Regions from separate parts of the Homo sapiens genome. Here all the other regions are linked to region 3. Evidence: promoter capture Hi-C in human tissues and cell types (Jung and others, 2019). All regions are on one chromosome and are shown on one strand. The core of a region is centred on a gene start or on the middle of the fragment in contact, and the rest is flanking DNA. Distances in the headings are between cores, read along the strand shown. Region 1 has its middle 170 kb from the start of PLD5. Region 2 has its middle 200 kb from the start of PLD5. Region 3 holds the start of PLD5 (phospholipase D family member 5).

Region 1 (3,413 bases), core at 336-2,835, 170 kb after region 3:
GCACAGGTCTTGTCTTTTGGGAAGGCTTGTTTCAAGGCCATCTTAGACTAAAGGCCCTTCCTCTGAACTTCCTGAGACAGTCCCGCTGTTTACCTAGTCAAAGCACAGGCTGTCTTGTTTCATAATTCTACAACTTCTCTGTTGTCAGCACAGTCCTGGAGGATCCCAGAGCACAGAGCCTGGCACGCAGCCGTGCTCAGTGTCCTTGCTGAGTGAATGATGGGATCCATTCGTCTGTATTCACCAGTGGGGTTAAGCTTCCCACTTCTGTGGTAGCTAAAGCACTTCAATCTGTTCAGACCCAACTGAGGGTATTCTCAGAGCCCAGTGTGAGGGGGATGTAATTATGAAACTGAAAGCTTATTCAGAAATAACAGCTGTGGGTCCAGTTATTCAATGCAGACTCTATGGGCTCCGTTGAACCCCTTAAAATAGCCTGTAAATCTTCTCCCAAGCCTGAGGCCAGCAGAATATTTTCCCTGGAGTTACCAAAAGCCCAGTTCTCTTTTTGTTCTCTTTTGTGTCCCAGCACGAAGCCCAGCAGGCTGGACCTGCAGGTAGGGCTGACAGCCAGCAGTTGCTGAGCTCCCTTGTCTTAGCATCTGACAGAGAGGCCCTGGCACCAAGCATTTTGAGCAAAAAAAACAGAGCTGATTCAGGTGCTGGGCTTGGTTCTTCAGAAGCTGCCATCTGGACACACTCTGCCTCAGAAAAAAATGCCAAGCTTAGGGGTTCATCAGGCAGGAGGGCCTCCAGGTGCACCTGTGAGCAGCATCACTCATTAATTTATACTCACTGGACCACAGCAATAGGACATCTTCAGGCGCAATCCACCTGCCATAAACACCTTAGCTGGGCAAAGAGTGACATTATTTGGCACGAACCTGGTAGCTACCTGCAAGGGGTAACGTGAAAGTGAATAGGGTCCTGGAGGGGCAGGCCAAGTTCAAGGTCAAGATCAGTGGATTCAAAGTGAGTACCCAGGTGTTCATTTCTTCACATGCCTGCTGAATGCTATAGGCCTGCTCATTTCCCCACCGGCAAGTCATTTCTGCTCTGTTTAGACACACACACACACACAAACACACACACACACACACCCTAAGAACAGACTCATGGACAAAGGGTAAGCACCAAACAAGAACAATAAAAGGAACACATTACTGAATTAATGGAAATTTTAAAATAGAAAAATTTTCTTTACCTCAAGCCACATACACTTAGAATTATTTACATTTTGGCTTAAATCAATGCATTAATAAATGAGATATCACTTTTGCAAAAAAATTTCAAAGTGTATTTGCTTCCTTTGAACCTAATTGCCAAGATATGTTGGCTCTCATACAAAAACTGGGTTTGTGTCAATAAATCTTATTTCAGATTTTGAATAGTTGGGCTGCCGAGTAAATGCAATCTAAGTAACAGCCTCATGTGATTTGTATTAGACCTTAGTTTCTTTTCTTTTTCTTTTTCTCTTTTTTTTTTTTTTTTTTTTTTTGTGTGTGTGTGTGAGATGGAGTTTCACTCTGTCGCCCAGGCTAGAGTGCAGTGGCACCATCTCAGCTCACCGCAAGCTCCACCTCCCGGGTTCACGCCATTCTCCCTCCTGCCTCAGCCTCCCGAGTAGCTGGGACTACAGGTGCCCGCCACCACGCCTGGCTAATTTTTTGTATTTTTAGTAGAGATGAGGTTTCACCGTGTTAGCCAGGATGGTCTCGATCTCCTGACCTCGTGATCCGAAGTCAGATTTGATTTTAGCTTATTGCCAAACTTTCTTGATTTTCAGCTCCTTCTGGAACCCTGGCTGTGATGGAGGAGCAGAAACAGAACATATTCAGGTCTTCCTCTGCATTTCCTCCTCAACTTGCTGATGCTTAAAAAATAGCAAGAATACAGTCTCATTCATGGAGTTACAACTATATTAAGCTTAGCCTATAGGAAGGGAGAATAAATAAGAGTGCACTAATTAATACATTCTGAAATATAGCCCTGGCAACTAACAGCTTAGGATTCCATCCTGATTTATTACACTGACTCATCTCCCTAAGAGGTTAAGAGTTTCTCATAATGCAGGAAACGGGATCTCATTCACTTCTTCCATATGACCATTCACTCCAAACCCTCTCTCCACCAACTTCTCCTGCTCTATCTCAGGGCTGTAGACAATAACGCTTTTCACTGAAAACCAGGTCCCTTGCCAAGATTTCATTTTCCACTTCCCACTGGTGAGGCAGGCAGCCACCAGGTGTGGCATAGAAAACTCATAGAGGCATTCTATCTCTTTCATATCTTCCAGGGTGGCAGTGAAGCTACCAGTGCAGTTATTTAGTATCAGGCATTTATTTTGAGATATCTTCTCTCTCTACTCAGTAACATGAAGAGATAGAAGGACTCCAGTGATGATGAAGTTTTAATTCCTAGCATTTTTCTATGCTGTCAGGTTGTCTTTTCTTTGAGGAATGCAATTACTGGAAGTGGGTAACAGAGCAAAGAAAATCCAACTAGTGTAGATGGAGAAAACATTTTAAATTGCTTCAAAATGAGATGATGCCACTGAGGTGATGAGATGAATAAAATCCTATTTTGGGCAAAATCCACAGATAGGATAGCACGCTTGCAGCAGAAGAGTATGGTTGTGATGGCCTGAGAAAGAAAGCCTTCTGGAAAAGTTCAAGAGAGAGTCTGTGATGTTTGTTTTGCATAGATGAGACAAAACAGGGAAGATCAGAAGGAAGATTAGAGTAAAGGTTAATATTCCTAAGATATGACCCAATCGCTACAACCAAGGACTAAGCTTTGGGGTTGACTTTTATCCCATTTCTGTCCCTAGCCTGGTGCTTTTCTCCTTTTGCCTAATCATTATCAAAATCCTGCCACTCATCTCTCAAGGACCAGCAAGAGCCCCGCTTCCTTTCCCCAACCTTCCTAGACCACCCAGACATCACTATTAACACCTTCGTCGGCACTCCCCAATCATGCCTTGTTTCTCTAGCCACCATTGCGTTCCTCTCTCAGTATTGCGTGTTCTTGATACGTGTGTGTCTATGTCTATGCATGCATGTATATGTATATACACACACATATATATATATCCCATTCATTCATTTCATCCACATATATTTTTGAAAACTTATTATTATTTTGAGATGGAGTTTCACTCTTGTCACCCAGGCTGGAGTACAGTGGTGAGATCTCGGCTCACTGCAACCTCTGCCTCCCAGGTTCAAGCGATTCTCCTGCCTCAGCCTCCCAAGTAGCTGGGATTACAGATGCCCACCACCATGCCCGGCTAATTTTTGTATTTTTAGTAGAGAAGGGGTTTTGCCATGTTGGCCAGGCTAGTCTCGAGCTCCTGACCCCAGGTGATCCACCCACCTCGGCCTCCCAAAGTGCTGGAATTACAGGTGTGAGCC
Region 2 (3,404 bases), core at 477-2,976, 200 kb after region 3:
CCTTGAATGCTGCTGAAGACGTCATGTTTTAATACAACAATCTATAGGCTTCTATGTGCCCACTGTTTATGATTTGCAAAGACATAAATCTAAAGCGACTTCCATTTCAGTATGGCCTGAGGTTTTCCCCGGACTTCGCAGAATTTAAATCCCTGCGTTGAAGGAATAAAATCAATCACATAAGTTTTAACAGTGCTGACTTTCCCTGTCGAAATGTAAGGCGCTCATTGTTCTGCAGAGACAGTGTGGACAGACGGTCAGAGAAACCAAGCTTCTCAAGGGCAAGAAGAGCTACCTCAAGTGCTTGCCTGGTCCACAAAGAACTTGATGATCAAACAAGGTCATCAAGAACCTCAGTATATGAGCTCCATGACGGCAGAACTGCTGCAGGGCGGAGTCCAGTGGAGGGGGAATTGGGGTGCTGGGGCAGAAGAAGCCTCTGCCCATTATGCCTCTACCTTGAGCAAAAATGAATCTTTCAGGTGCTCCATAAGAAATCAATCACTACACTGATCAGAAACCATCGTGGCATGGAATTTTCAATCATTCCTTCCTGTAATTCTTCTTTTAAGTGTAAGAACTCTTTTTGCAAACGATTTTATGTGGCTTCTTTTGCAGAGCTTACTCCATGATCTAGCCCTGGCAGAGTCTCCAACAGTCTCTGGTTTGCTCTTCCAGAGTCAGTCTTCAGTCCAGCGTCAGTTTTTCTGAAGGAATCACAGGATAGGACCAGAAGGCACTGTGGGAGAAAGGAATTTCTGAACTGTGTTTTCCATGGGAGAGCCAGAGGAAGACAAGTTAAGGTCTAGAAACCTGCAGTCTCCACAGCTCAGAGAAGGAGAGAAGCGTGGCTGTATCTGGGCAGGTCAGGGGCATCAGGCGCATGTGACTAGAGGAGGTAGTAAAGGAGGAGGTGTGGCTGGGTGCAGTGGCTCACGCCTGTAACTCTAGCACTTTGGGATGCCAAGGCGGGTGGATCACCTGAGGTCAAAAGTTTGAGACCAGCCTGGCCAACATGGTGAAACCCCATCTCTACCAAAAACACAAAAATAAGCCAGGCATGGTGACACACACATGTAATCCCAGCTTCTTGGGAGGCTGAGGCAGGAGAATCACTTGAACACAGGAGGCAGAGATTGCAGTGAGTCGAGATCATGCCACTGCACTGCAGCCTGGACAACAGAGTGAGACTCTGTCTCAAACAAACAAACAAACGGAGGAGGGGGAATGGACACGTTATGTGTTGTTCTCATTTATGGCTGCCAGATTTAGCAGAAGGAGGAGGAGGAGGAATAGGGAAAAGAAAAAACAAAGGACATCATGGGACACACCCGTACTAGAAAATTATTCATTGTCTGAAATCCAAATTCAGCTGGGCATCCTATATTTTGCCTGACCACCCTATTACCGACTCCTCCCTCTCTTGGCCTTCCCACCGGTACAGCTCCACCATTATTCATTTCATAAATCGTGGTCTACATAAAATTGTTTTAAAACAAGCTTCTGGTGCTTTAGAAAGTAAAAAGGATGGAATAGTTAAAAATTACTACTACACCACAGCTAGTAGATTTTATCACTGCAAGAAGGACAAGAGGGTGTGCACGTGCTGTAACTTCATGATAAGCAATTTTAAAATTTATTTGATTATCATTGGATGCATTCCAAGGGAAGCGGCATGTGGTCGATGGAATTTTTCACTCCAATTCTTTGCCCTTTCTACTATCCATACATTTTGTCCTGTGGCTTTTGCAGTTCCTCCCACTATAGGCAGAATTTGGCTAATCTTTGGGTTTAGCCACATGTCTGCTTTGGCCAGTGGGGTATGATATAATGCACTGGCATGATTAGGCTTGTCCTCTTGCACCCTGACATTAACGTGAGAAGAACATGCCTTGCAGAGTTGCCTACTTGACTCAGAAAAATAAGATGCTTGAAACAGATCTAAATTGAACTCAAGGCCTGCAGCCAAATCTAGCTGAGCCCAGACAAGCTGACTCATATATACACAAGCCAGAAATAAATGCTTTCATTGTATGGTCCAGACTTTGGGGGTGGTTTGTTATGCAGCATTACTGTGGTAAACACTGACTGATACACACCACCTCATCACTCTCAGGGTATCTATCTAGGCTGCCAGTTCCTTCACGAGCCCACATTCACACTAGCATGCATGACACAGACTTTTCCATTTAGGAAGGATATTTTTAGCAAAAAGTTTAGCAACAATGAATTCTCAGAATTTCCCAAGATTCATAGAGAAGGCACCCACTAAATGAAAATTACCATCCAGATTGCTAATGAGATTATCACTAATCTTCCTCAATTTAAAAACTAAATGTTCTTTCCAGGATTTTTAAAAAGCATTTCAAAGATGGAAATGAGGAACTAGCCACCATGAGAAATTATAAAATTGAACAGCTGTGCAGGCAACTCATTTATTAGAGTCAACATTTAACCAGGCAGGAGCTGGTGATTGTTATTTCCCCTTCAATGTATTCAGGATGTATGTTTCATTAAACTTGATATTTACAGGAAAAATCCAGTATGTAACAGATGGGAAACTTGGAGAAAATTTTTTTTTTTATTTTAGTCAGTGGTGTTCTCCAGAGATGCCTGCCACTACACCTCCTCCTTCAAGCCCCTTCCTTGAAAAATGTGTCAAAACCCTAATTTCTATGTTGTTTGCCTCCTACAACACCTTTCAATGCATTAAAGCCCAATATTTGTACTCATATTTCCAAGCACTATTAGAAGGATTGGAATTCTTCAAAATTCACACAGTAAACTGCATTATGTGATTGACCCACATATAGAAACCAAAATAAACTCTTCAATGGGACCTTTGTGCTAGAGATTACATCAGGAACTACAATCAAATGGCCACAGCAAATGAGACAACTTGGTATTTTTTTTTAACAGGAACCGTAAAAATTACTCACTGAGAAAGAACATCAAGTTAAATCAAGCAAAAACACAGTGCGGTTCCAAAAATACAATGGCGTTTTCAGGAATTAGTGTACAGGAGCTTAACGTCTTGCTAACACACGATAACACTCAGCTTCAGCTACAGTGTCAAGCTAGGGATGGTAGGTTATTGAATTAGGACACTGCTTGTCAAATAGTTTTACCAAAAATATATTTTCAAGCCAAGAGGAAATGACCTTAACAGGTCTAGAGTCAGTTTAGACTAAAATGGCTTACTGCAATTTAAGTGTTCTGTCTTCAAAATTCACAATTTTTGCACTCTATTTCATAATATATCCATGTTGCTTCACACGATAATAGTATTTTCAATTACCAGTAGGGAAAACAAGCAAGTTTCCTCAAGGCTCATTGGTTAGTAGCAAAACATTGTGAGATACTGGATCAATCGAACTTGGGCAATGGGGCTGCATTCAAGAGCC
Region 3 (3,064 bases), core at 385-2,884:
GGTCGGTGCAGCAGTTGGAAATGCGTGAGTTCCAGGAGTTCTTGGTCTTATCTTTTTTATCATTGTTGGCGTCCTGACCCAAATACAAGGAAACCTCCACATTCCATTAGCAGACTCAATTTGGATTCTGCAGCTCTGCAGGGAGAAATAGCATCTTCTCCTTAGCTAGTTGTGCTGCACTCTTGAGATAATTCTCTTAGTTTAATTTTAACATTTGGTTTAAGAAGATGCTGATGGATCAAATTTGAAACTGTGGATCCACTAAACGCCTTTTTAGAAGGTTTTTTTTTTTTCTTTCAAAATAGCAAGCCTTAGGAGCTCAACTCCAGAGCCAATTCACTTCGCGTGAAGTCGGCACTCCTTGGGAGTAGAGGTCCCCTCTCACCGGCTCCCACCCTCCAGAGGGGAGGATTTCTGGGGAGCCCGACGATCCGCTCGCTTTTAGCCTTTCTCCTTGCAACGCGCAAATCTCTCCCTAGTTGGGCTCAAGTAGAGAGGATCACCAACTGCTCATCCCAGCGGACACTCTGCAAAAAACTCTAATGGCTTGTGCGCGGGTCCACGCTGGTCGCTAGCGGCGCCAACTTTACTCATTCGTTAATTTGCTAGTTTTTGGACTGAGTAAAACAGCCCCCAAAGACGCGGGCAAACGCCGCTCTAAAGCCCACTACCATGCAACGCCAGGTTGCTCGGAGCCACGCTGGTGGCACTTCCCCTTCGTGCTCACTCTGCACAGGCACCTCCAGAACCCCGTGCAAATGAACCCTACCGGGAGACGCAGGTGGGCAGGTCGGGTCGGCAGGGACCAAGAGCCTGAAAGGGAACCTGCCCTCCCCTCCCCGCAGCCCGGTCATTAAGGCAAGAAACTGCAGGCAGAGAAGCCCCCGAATCCGACCTAGGACGTCGGCGCCTGCCAGGATCCCCTCGCCTGCCCCCCGCGCCCCGCGCGCGCTCATGCCACCACCACGGGGAGGGTGCATGCGGCAGGTGCCTGGCCGAGGCCCCCGGGAGCGAGTCGCCCTTACGTGCTCCAGCTTGTCTTTCCTCCGAAGCCAGACGCTGGCGCTGTAGTCCTGCTGCTTGACGCTGCTGTAGAAGTTCGCGCCCACTCGGGTCAGGCTTGGGGAGGGCTCCTTGGGGCGGCTTTTGAGCCTCATCTGCTCGAAGCCCTCATGGGGGGAGGCCGAGAGCCACTCGTGCTGCCGGATCTCCATCCTGACATGACCGGGCGGCCGCCGGCGAGCAGCGGACTCGGGACGGGCGCGCGGGGAGCCGGGCGCGGAGGGCGAGCGGGAGGCCCAGCGGGAGCCGGAGGTGGAGCTGGAGACTGAGCTGGAGGAGCTGGAGGAGCGAGCGGGCGCGGGGAGCGCGGGGTGCTGAGCGCCAGCTGGGAGCGCGGCCGGGCGGGAGGGGGCGATCGCGGGAGGCGCGGGGCGGAAGGAGGGAGGGCGAGGTGCGGGCGGGGGCGGGGGCGGGGGCGGAGGGGGACGGACGGGGAGAAGGGGGACGAGAGGGGACAGGGAGGGAAAGGAACCTGCTCCGGGGAGACAGAAGTGCCCGGTGCGGCGGCGACGTCGCCCGGCGGCTGCGGTCCCGAGCGGGCGCTCCGCTCGCCGGCTCCTTGCGGCACCTACTGGGACCCGGGCCGGCTCCCGGGGCGGCGGCGGCGGCGGGGGTGGGGTGCGGTGGGAGGGGCCGCGGCTGGCCCAGCCAGCCCGCGCCTGCAGGTTGGTGCAGTGAGGAGCCGCCGCCGCCCCTCCCGCCGCGCCCAGGCCCGGGCGGCCGCGCTCCCGCTCCGCACCCGCCTTTCCCGAGCAGGCTACACCTCTCCCTGGCGCATCTTTACTGGAAAGCCGGCAGGCGAGGGGAGAAGTGAGCGCCGTCTCCGCGCCTCCTCGGTCCTGCTGGCTGAGCGCGGGGATGGCTCCGGAGGGAGACACTCAGGAAACCACCTCCGCCCTTCCCCCATCTCTATCCAGCGGCGCCCCCTCACCCTGCCCCCGGCTCGCTTGGGCTGCGCCTTCCCCCATTCTGAAAGTTCACTAACTTCCCACCCCAAGGGACTTAGAGCAGAGGGTGCCCAGCATTCCCCCCTGAAAATAGCCGAGAGACATGTGTTTTCTGGAGCCGTACACGCTACTTTCATCCGATGGTGTGGCGATGCAAATACGCCCGGGGGCAGTAGCCCCTCGGGCAGGCACGCGGGACCGGTTGCTCCCCAGCCCTCGGTGTCCACCTAGAACCGGGCTCCCCGGGCCGCACCCATTCCGATCCTGGGAGGGTGATCCAGGGCTCCTCTGCAACGCTCCGCTTGTGCGGTGACTGTTCCTTAGGTGGACGTGGCCCAACTGCTGTGCATTTGTTTCTTTTCTCTGTTTCTAGGCCCCTAGGGTCCAGGCTTTTCCTTCGGGGCCCAGCCAAGCGTGATGATTATTAGGAATAGGGTGGCTTGTTCGCGATTAAATCTTCAATCTCTTCATCTTTTGCTATCTTTGGAGTCAACCTCTCGAAACATTTTTTGGTTTTATCTAAATGCTAAACAGCTGGTGTTCAGGGTGTCTCGTGTCTGGTTAAAAGCTTGGGAAGTGTATGGAAGCTGGAGAGGTATACAGGGGATTTTAGAGGGTGTTGCCAAGGGTAAACTGAAGGCTCTCTAGCCCTCGGCAGAACTGCCCTACTTGAATGACGGTTTCAAAGACATTCTGGCTGGGATTTCACAAACTTTTAGGAGGACAGGGATTGTGTTTCATATCTTTTCAAAGTCTCCATTTAAAAAAATGGTATAGTAAAAATAGTAGTTGAAATAAAATCCTGTGCACATTCAATATGGGGATGAAACAACTAAACACAAATACACACATTTTGGTTGTGCTAGGTTGGTTTTCTTAGGAGCTGAACTATATTGTGCAATAGATGCCCCGACCTGTGGGCTATCTCTAAGTCTCATGTTATCCTGCAAGATAAATGTTATTAACCCTCCTTTCCAGTGAGGAAAGTGAAGCAGAAGCAGAAATTACACTTCAAAACAAGGATATGAACCAGATTGAAAAGCTGTGAAGGCCAG

The links. The method cuts DNA at HindIII sites, captures the fragments that hold promoters and counts their contacts. A contact is called where the count stands out against the background at its distance.
Region 1: a fragment that was not itself captured here is called in contact with the fragment with the promoter of PLD5 in region 3 in 6 of the 25 tissues and cell types used here (H1 embryonic stem cells, heart right ventricle, hippocampus and 3 more).
Region 2: a fragment that was not itself captured here is called in contact with the fragment with the promoter of PLD5 in region 3 in 6 of the 25 tissues and cell types used here (hippocampus, mesendoderm cells, neural progenitor cells and 3 more).

The regions. Positions count from the first base shown.
Region 1 is chr1:242,691,119-242,694,531 of GRCh38, forward strand. No RefSeq gene overlaps it. Among named protein-coding and RNA genes, the nearest start is that of PLD5, 170 kb to the left of the region's middle. The HindIII fragment of the contact is 3,960 bases long and covers 1-3,413 here.
Region 2 is chr1:242,724,408-242,727,811 of GRCh38, forward strand. No RefSeq gene overlaps it. Among named protein-coding and RNA genes, the nearest start is that of PLD5, 200 kb to the left of the region's middle. The HindIII fragment of the contact is 5,147 bases long and covers 1-3,404 here.
Region 3 is chr1:242,523,063-242,526,126 of GRCh38, forward strand. PLD5 (phospholipase D family member 5) reads right to left here and starts at 1,635. Exons shown (of 10, transcript NM_001372062.1): 1 at 1,026-1,635. The coding sequence starts at 1,214. The HindIII fragment of the contact is 9,545 bases long and covers 1-3,064 here.